Linked DNA regions of Homo sapiens: all the other regions are linked to region 2. The links are contacts of gene promoters, found by promoter capture Hi-C in human tissues and cell types (Jung and others, 2019). All regions are on one chromosome and are shown on one strand. The core of a region is centred on a gene start or on the middle of the fragment in contact, and the rest is flanking DNA. Distances in the headings are between cores, read along the strand shown. Region 1 has its middle 410 kb from the start of SASH1. Region 2 holds the start of SAMD5 (sterile alpha motif domain containing 5). Region 3 has its middle 280 kb from the start of SAMD5.

Region 1 (2,747 bases), core at 109-2,608, 420 kb before region 2:
GGTATGAGGAGTGGCTATAAAGACACTTGAAAATGTGGAAGTGGCTTTGGAACTGGGTAACAGGCAAAGGTTGGAAGAGTTTCAGGACTCAGAAGAAGACAGAAAGATGAAGGAAAGTTTGGAACTTCTTAGAGACTAGTTAAGTGTTGTAACCAAAATGCTGATAGAAATACAGATAGGAAAGGCCATGCAGAGGAGGTATCAGATGGAAATGAGGAACTTATTGGGAACTGGAGCAAAGGTTGCTCTTACTAGGCATAGCAAAGTACTTGGCTGCCTTGTGTCCATGCACTAGAGTTTCGTGGATGGCTGAACTTAAGAGGGATAATCTAGGGTATATGATAGGAGACATTTCTAAGCAGCAAAAGGTCTATGACATTTAGTGGACAGATGCCAGGGATGCTGCACAATCTACAGTGTGTAGGAGAGTGCCATACAATAAAGGATTTTTCCTCACATACATTTTAAATGCTGTACCAGACATTTATGTAGGTGAAAACTGGTTTGTAACTAACTTAACCCAGAATCAAACTATTTCAAACATAAATTACTTTTGGCTAAGTTTTCAGCTACACTAAATTTTCTAGGAATTTAAGTACTGTGTGTATCAAAGGAGAGCTGTACTTTCCCCCCCAATGTTACCAAGATTTGTTCACCAATTCAGAAAATCCCATCAACAGTGATAATCCAGTAGCAGAATATAAGTTGCCAACATAACCCAACTGCATCAGTCTGCATTTGTAGATGTCATTCTACATACAAGTGTGACCATCTGACATAATTATGCCCACCAGTGATGCCATGTCTAAGCATTACAGATTGCAATGCATATTATTTTATTATAATTTTTCCTTTTATTTCTTCATTTTGGTAAGTTTTAGTTTGGTTTTTAAAAATATATGCATGTTAGTTATATCATTTATGAATTACATTTCAAGGTGAGAAAGATAAAATTAGAAAATATTTATATTAAAACGGGGTGTTAGGTGTGATAGGGTTGAGACCCACTGGTGTAAATAAAATAGTGCATCAGGAGATTTGGTTTCCTGCTGTCTTGGCCAACCATTATGTGGCCTTAGAGAAGTGATGTTATTTCCCTGTGTCCACTCAATGGAAATGATTGGCTGAACTATGTCTCTTACAGCACCTTCTAATTTTAAATCTTGACTACCTGACTTTGACACCAGTTTAGGTTTGGGAATATTTAAACCCATTAAAAAAGTGAAGACAACTGAACTTACTGGGCAAAGTAAGTATTTTGGAACCAGGACAGTGTGGTTCTTTGTGACACATATGTTGAATGCATTTGAGTGACTGCTCTAGTTAAAAGACTACCATGAAAAACAATCCTCAGCAAATGCAAAAGAACCAAAATCACCACAAATGTACTCTTGGACCAATAAAAATAGAAGTCAAGACTAAAAAAAAAACACTCAAAACCACATAATTATATGGAAATTAAACAACATGCTCCTGAATGACTTTTGGGTAAATAATGAAATTAAGGCAAAAATCAAGCAGTTATTTGAAACCAATGAGAACAAAGATACAACATACCAGAATTTCTGGGACACAGCTAAGGCAGTGTTAAGAGGGAAATTCATAGCACTAAATGCCCACATCAAAAAGTTAGAAAGATCTAAAATTAACAACCTAACATCACAACTGAAAGAATTAGAGAAGCAAGAGGAAACCAAGCCCAATGCTAGCAGAAAACAAGAAATAACCAAAATCAGAGCTGAAATGAAGGAAACTGAGATACGAAAAACCATTCAACATATCAATGAATCCAGGAGTTGGTTGTTCAAAAAAATAGTAAGATAGGCCACCAGCTAGACTAATAAAGAAGAAAAGAGAGAAGAACCAAATAAATACAAATAGAAATGACAAAGAAGATGTTACCACGGATGCCACAGAAATAAAAATAACTATCAAAAAGTATTACAAACACCTGTATGTGAAAAAACTAGAAAACCTAGAAGAGGTGGATAAATCCCTGGAGACATTCATCCTGCCAAGACTGAACCAGGAGGAAATTGATTCCCTGAACAGACCAATAATGAGCTCTGTAATTGAATCAGTAATAACTAGCCTACCAACTAAAAACCAAAAAAGCCCAAGATCAGATGGATTCACAGTGGAATTCTACCAGATGTACAAAGAAGCGCTGGTACCATTAATACTGAAACTATTTCCCAAAACTGAGGACTCCTCCCCAACTCATTCTATGAGTCCAGCATCATCCTGATTCAAAAACCTGGCAGAGACACAACCAAAAAAAGAACACATCAGGCCAATATCCTTGATGAACATTGATGCAAAACTCCCCAACAAAATACTTGTAAATTGAATCCAGCAGCACATCAAAAAGTTTATCCACCACGATCAAGTAGGCTTCATCCCTGGGATGCAAGTTTGGTTTAACACGCACAAATTAATAAATGTGATTCATCACATAAAGAGAACTAAAGACAAAAACCACACAATTATGTCAATAGATACAGAAAAGGCTTTAGATAAAATCTAACATTTCTTCATGTTAAAAATTCTCAGTAAACTAGATATTGAAGGAACATACCTCAAAATAATAACAGTCATCTATGACAGACCTACCACCAACATCATACTGAATGAGGAAAAGCTGTAAGCATTCCCCTTGCAAACTGGCGCAAGACCAGGGTGCCCTCTCTCATCACTCCCATTCTACATTGCATTGGAAATCCTAGCCAGAGCAATCAGGAAAGAGA
Region 2 (3,127 bases), core at 579-3,078:
AGTTGGGTTTCTGTGGCCCACCAGCTGAGTATGTTTGCCATCATTTTCTCCCTGGGCTCTTCTAAGTCTTGATTTTTAAGCTGAGGTGCTCATATTCCTGTGCACCTTCTGCAATCCTGAGCGTTACCTGTGCTGTCTACTTCTCTATCAAGTCAGGACCCTCTACTCCGACAGCCGCCTGAACTAGAAACCTAAACGGAACAGACTCGCAGCTAGAAGCAGAGCTCTGGTGTGAAGTACCATTTTCTGTTAATTACCCAGCTCCCACTCCACATTTCGGAACTTCCAGGTTCCTTCCCTGAGGCCCCCGGTGCAGAGGATTCCCCTTTAGTTCACTTGTGCTCGGTCCTCCTCTCCCAAATGCAGGTCCACTCACACTTCCTGGAAGTCACAGTTGTACCTACTTCATCTTATCTGGCTTAATAATAAACCAAACTCGTGACAGCCCAGACCTCTGAAGCACATCCTGTGGCCCGATTATCTCTGATGTCCTTAGCACCTTATTGCCTCCAGTATACACAAGTTTAGGAAATCATCTCAAGTGGACTGACACGTGCTTCCTTCACTTTTCCTCTTAAAATGCTCATGTGAATGGTAAGCTTCTCAAATTTGCAGCAGCGCTGGGATTTTTTATGGAATTGAGAAAGGCAGGGCCTGACTTTCCACTCTTTAAAGAGTTCACCGATTTCCCTTAGGAGTTTCTCAAGACTCAAAAAAGGAAAAGAAAGAGAAAAAGGAAGGTAGAAAGCAATGTAGGTATTAACCATTTTTTCTGGTACTCTTCAAACCCAAAACTACTATAGAGGGCGTTAGGAATTCCCCCTGGCTACCAGGTGAAGCAGCGCGAGTCCGATTCCTGACAGGCGAGCACCAGAGAGGATGCGGAGTTTTGGTCGTTAGTTTAGAGATAACATCTGGATGCGGGGGCTTGTCTTACCAACCACTGGAGACACCAGGAAGGACGAAATAATGGGCTAATACAGAAAGAACATAGAAAAGGGTCCCAGATACCCAAAGCCTCCTGGCCTCTCCGTCGTCACCTGGAATGGGTTGCAAAGCCTTGGCACAGGCAGCTGGGCTGTGTCCCCTCCCGCCGCGCGCCCCGGGCCGCCCGGACGGCACCTCCTTACCTTGCGGGAGTACGGGGGCTTGCTCAGGTGGATGCCGTCACGGACGAGCTTATCCCTGATCATGATCTTCAGCTTCAGTTTGGGGTAGCTCACCAGCTCCCTGCTGCGGGGGGCGGTCGTGTGGCCGCGAGAGTCCCCGCGGGTGCCCTGGGCCGGGCCGCCGCACGGCTCCCCCCGGCGGCCGGTGGGGACGGCGTCGGCGGGCGGCCCGGGGGGCGCCGGCTGCGGCTCAAGCGTGAAGTAGAGGCCGGCGGCGTTGGCGTCCTGCTCCCGCAGCCGGCGCACGGCCTCCAGGATACGGCGGCGGTGCGCGGGCGCCAGCACCCCGATGGCATCCAGGTCCGGGTCCCCGATCTGCTTGCACACCTCCAGGTCATCGTAGCCGTTATCCACGAAGGACTCCGCGTACTGCGGAAGCTGCAGCGCTTTGAGCCACTCGTAAACTATGTTGGTGCACATGGTGGGACCGGGAACCCCGCCGCCGAGCACCTTCCCAGCGCCCAAATGGCACGGGCGGCACCAGTTCTTGGAACTTTTAATCCTCTCCTCCAAGGGGAAAAGGGTATCGCAGTAAAGTTTTCCTTTTAAAGGAAAGGCTCGGGCAGGAGACGGAAAACCATCAGAAGAAGCCTGAGGAAGGGAGAAGCGAACAAGCAGCAAAGTGAATTCCCCAAGCAGCAGCGGAGCTCGCAGGCACTGGCTGCTGGGCTGAGCAAGGCTCCGCGCCGCCCCTGGATGCGCCGCCGACGCTGCCGCCGCGGGGAGGGGCGCGCGACTGGCGCGGGAGGGGGCGGAGACGGGAGGGGCCGGGGCACACCCCTCGGACCTGCGCCGGGTCAGCGCTGCGCAGTGCCGCCCGCGAGTTTTCCCAGCCGGGACGGTCCGGCGGCTGCGCGCCGCATCTCGCGCTCTGGCAGCCGCCGCCGCCGCTGGCGCGCTCCGCGCCGCGAGGCGACTTCTCCACGCAGACCCGCGGCCGCTGGGAGCGCCTAGTCTTCGCGAGTGTCAGTCACTGTAGTCCTCCCGGCGGGAAGCCGGTGGCTTCTACGCTGCTGGGCTCCGTTGGCTGCCCTGGGTTGCTTTTCACATTTCTGTTTAATCTGACTCTTCTACCCGTGGAAGTCTGTGCTCACTTCTTCCCGACCCTGCCGGACTCCAGCTTCCGCGCCCGCTGGCAGCCCAAGGACACGTCCCGCCGCCCCACGGCGCTGGGGACGCTGCGGGGTTCAGTGTCCCTTCCTTCCGGATCCGCGTTTGAATCCCCCTTCCTCGGATCCCGTACGCAGCCCAGAGCCCGGCGATCTGACTTCTTCCGTGGGCGGCCACTCAGTGACCCGAGCGGCGGCGTTTTGGCCCGGAGGGTGGGCGCAACGTGGGGACCGCCCGGGTCCAGCCGGCTTGCGCGCCGCCCCTCCTCGCTGCAGCTGGGCACGTTGGGCGGCAGGAGAGGCTGCTGTCTTCCTGGCTCTCCCTTCCTAAGCTCCCGGGTCTGCGAAAGTTTGGGGTGGGTTGTACTTTCTCCTAGGTCAGTGTGTCCCACCCGGTACCCCACCCTCCTTTCTGCCCGGCCCCTCCCCCTCGTCGGCGCTATGCTTTCTCTCCGGGCCCCCCACCTAGTATACTGCACGGGCTCCCGGGGTGGCTTTGCCCCCGGGGACACTGCCAGGCGTTCGGTCCTGGAGCCCGGGAATCCGAGCCTATCCTCTCGCTCCCGCCCGGGGATCGCGTGAAAATCAATAGAGCACCACCCAGCTCGTGTTGGAAGGGACGCTCAGACATCTCCGCCCACGGCATTTTCCCTCTAGGAGGTAACAAAATCAATCGAGTTTCCCCATCATGCCAATGTCTGAGCAGCCTCTTGGGACTGGGGACTCGAGTGGCAGGTGGAACAGACCAAGCGCCTGGGCCCCATTTCCCGGTGTCTGACCTCTTCTTGGGACTAAGGGAAGTGAGGGACGGCGGGGGCAGGTACTGTCTCCTCTCTTTCCGCAGAAGGG
Region 3 (3,096 bases), core at 346-2,845, 280 kb before region 2:
CATTTTGTTTACAAAACACCTAAGCAGTACTCCTCAAAACCGTCACAGTCATCAAAAACAAGGAGGTCCTGAAAAACTGCATAGCTAAGAGGAGCCTGAGTAGACCTGATGACTAAACACAATATGGCGTCCTGGGTGAGATCCTGGAACAGAAAAAATCAACGAAATCTGATACAGTATGGACTGTAATGATAATAACAATGTATCAGCATTTCTTCATTAATTACAATAAATGTGCCAAGACATGTAAGATATTAATAATAGGGGAAACCCATGTGGACCATATAGAATAGCACTCTTTTTGCAACTTTTCAATAAATCTAAAAATATTTTCAAATAAAATGCTTACTTTACATATCATCCTCCTAAAAAATAACTCTCAAAAATTAAAAAAATATATCTCTGGGCAGGGAGATGGCAGAAGCATGAATAGGAAGTGCTGTTATAAAGTTATGGCACTTACCTGTATGTATGTGTGTGCGGTAGTGTTTTGGGTTTTGACTGTGTGTGTGTGTGTGTGTGTGTGTGTGTGTGTGTGTGTGTTTTTCTAGAGACTGGGTCTTATGCCATCGTCCAGGCTGCAGTTCAGTGCAGTGGCATCATCCTTGCTCACAGTAAGTTTGAACTCCTTGGGCTTAAGCAATCCTTCTGCCTCAGGCTCCCAAAGTGCTGGGATTACGGGCATGACCCAGTGTGCCTGGATGGTGGTGTTTTTTTTTTTGTTTGTTTGTTTGTTTTTTGAGACAGTCTCCCTCTGTCACCCAGGCTGGAGTGCAGTGGCGTGATCTGGGCTCACTGCAAGCTCCACCTCCCAGGTTCACACCATTCTCCTGCATCAGCCTCCCGAGTAGCTGGGACTACAGGCACCTGCCACTACGCCCGGCTAATTTTTTTGTATTCTTAGTAAAGATGGGGTTTCACCGTGTTAGCCAGGATGGTCTCGATCTCCTGACCTCGTGATCCTCCCGCCTTGGCCTCCCAAAGTGCTGGGATTACAAGCATGAGCCACCGCATCCGTCCTGGTGGTGGTTTTTAATAGGCCTCAAATCAAAATTTATAAAAGAAGTGACTTTTGCCACTCACTGGCAAGCATCATCACACCTCCATTAGCCAAGAGCTAATATTCACATAGTACTTAATATTTTCTAGAGCTATTCTAAAAACTTCACTCATATTCTTAACCACTACGCTATATCAACTATTGGAAGTGGCTACATTGACTCGGAAAATCTTATTTTGAAAGTATAGACTTTTATCCACAAAAGCATCAACTCTTGCAGGTACAAGCACAGATGTGTTTCTATATTTAAAAAGAAAAATATTTGTATTTTTATAGCCACATTTAAAAACATCTATAATCCTCATGGGAAAAAATGCAAATACTTCACTATTAATTTTGTAGCCTACTTTCAATTTTCTCTCAATATAATATTCAAGTTCATGTATATGATGTTTTATTCAAGAAAGTAATATGCCAAACTCTTCAGTAATTTCTGTTTACATTTATTAGTGGTATAAACTCTCTGTAGCTGTCACTAGCTTTCAAAATAATGTAGGTAGCCTTAATTATACGTGCAATATGTATACTGAAATATCCATAGGATTCTGTTTCAATGTAAACATTTTACCTTAAATATTTTGAAAACAAAAGATTTAGAATTGTAAACCTTCAGGGCAGACATCTGTCAGTTCAGTGTCTGCCATTTCCAATAAACCCACCCATGCAACTCCAATTCCTTAATCAAATAGCAAGCTCAGCTGTTTGGGTTGACATCCAAGCAGACTTTTTCAAATTACTGTCTCACATTAAAAGAAAAGCCTTATTAACCATTCACCGAATACTTATGCAACCCTTGATGTAAGCCAAATATGTTCTCCTTTGACAGCTGACAAAGAAGCCCAAAAGATACCTTTAAATGGCCAAATGAGCCTTGGCGCTACGGAGCTACTGATAGTACACGTAACTCATTCTGCCTTTACTGTAAGAATGTTGTGTTGGAAAAGGATACAATGACACTTTGCAATCCAGTGCCAATGCATCTTTTCCAAATCTTTTTTCGGTACTCCATGCTTGACCAAGCAGGGAAAAGAAAATTTGCATCACACAGAAGCAAGAACGAGGCTTTCATATATTTGTCTCATAACATTTCATCTTAATACAAATTGTCCACAACAGTCACTGCAGAAAATTGCTCTCTGTTTGCTGCCACCACCAGGATGCCATCATTACTGACAAGATTGAGAAACCTGTCAGTGACAATTCAGGACTGAGTCCAATTGTGGCATCCATGTGAAATGCAAGTGGATTTTTTTTAGGGCTCTATTTGTGGATCTCTTTAATTCTTATTCATGTCTACTGGTCTTTGACTTACATGGAAACTCAATGCAATAAAGGCTTCAGCTCAAATTATTTCAATTTCAGAAATTATCAAAAAGTAAGATTTATAAAGTAATTTTTTAAAACTCTCCGTGACTACCGCAGGTGAGAGAAATACACTTTGAGGACTTTGCATCTGTGCTATCTAGAGGCACTGTCCTGCTCCATCATGGAGGACAGCCATTCTATTTCAAGTTAACGAGGCTTAATTCCATTTCCATGGGCAATTGGAAAGAAAAAATTAGCCATTTCATTGAGAGATTTCTGTAACAAAACTCTTTATGATTGGAGCCCACCCCACAAATTGTAGGTCCTTTTTATGGACATACAAATAGATTTTTCAGGATAATTTTTGAAGGTTATTTGTTTAACATTACATCACAACTTCTGGCTAAACTCCTTATACTTATAGACTTCCTGTCATAAATTATTTTTCTCCTCCAATGCACTTTAATGAAATTACTTAATTCTGTATGCAAAGTATTTAACCAAGGTGAAAGACAAATATCCTTGCAAATCTCAAAATTCTAAGAAGTCAATGTGACTGCAGAGTGTGGCTGGTCATGCCTTGTAGTTAAACTATCAAGTCAAACATACTAGAATATTCCAGTACAGCTGATGCTCAAGGAAATACTCCCTCACCCACACCTCTTGCTTTGGAAAAGCTTAAGAAAGAGTGAATGATTTTAAAATAAATTAGAAAACCTGGCAGCAATATG

Evidence for each region. The method cuts DNA at HindIII sites, captures the fragments that hold promoters and counts their contacts. A contact is called where the count stands out against the background at its distance.
Region 1: a contact is called between a fragment that was not itself captured here and the fragment with the promoter of SAMD5 in region 2, in 1 of the 25 tissues and cell types used here (IMR-90 fibroblasts).
Region 3: a contact is called between a fragment that was not itself captured here and the fragment with the promoter of SAMD5 in region 2, in 1 of the 25 tissues and cell types used here (mesendoderm cells).

Annotation. Positions count from the first base shown.
Region 1 is chr6:147,927,662-147,930,408 of GRCh38, reverse strand. It overlaps a transcript of SAMD5 not described here. Among named protein-coding and RNA genes, the nearest start is that of SASH1, 410 kb to the left of the region's middle. The HindIII fragment of the contact is 4,328 bases long and covers 1-2,747 here.
Region 2 is chr6:147,507,391-147,510,517 of GRCh38, reverse strand. It overlaps SAMD5 (sterile alpha motif domain containing 5), which reads right to left and starts at 1,828. Exons shown (of 2, transcript NM_001030060.3): 1 at 1,131-1,828. The coding sequence starts at 1,589. The HindIII fragment of the contact is 17,257 bases long and covers 241-3,127 here.
Region 3 is chr6:147,786,726-147,789,821 of GRCh38, reverse strand. It overlaps a transcript of SAMD5 not described here. Among named protein-coding and RNA genes, the nearest start is that of SAMD5, 280 kb to the right of the region's middle. The HindIII fragment of the contact is 5,197 bases long and covers 1-3,096 here.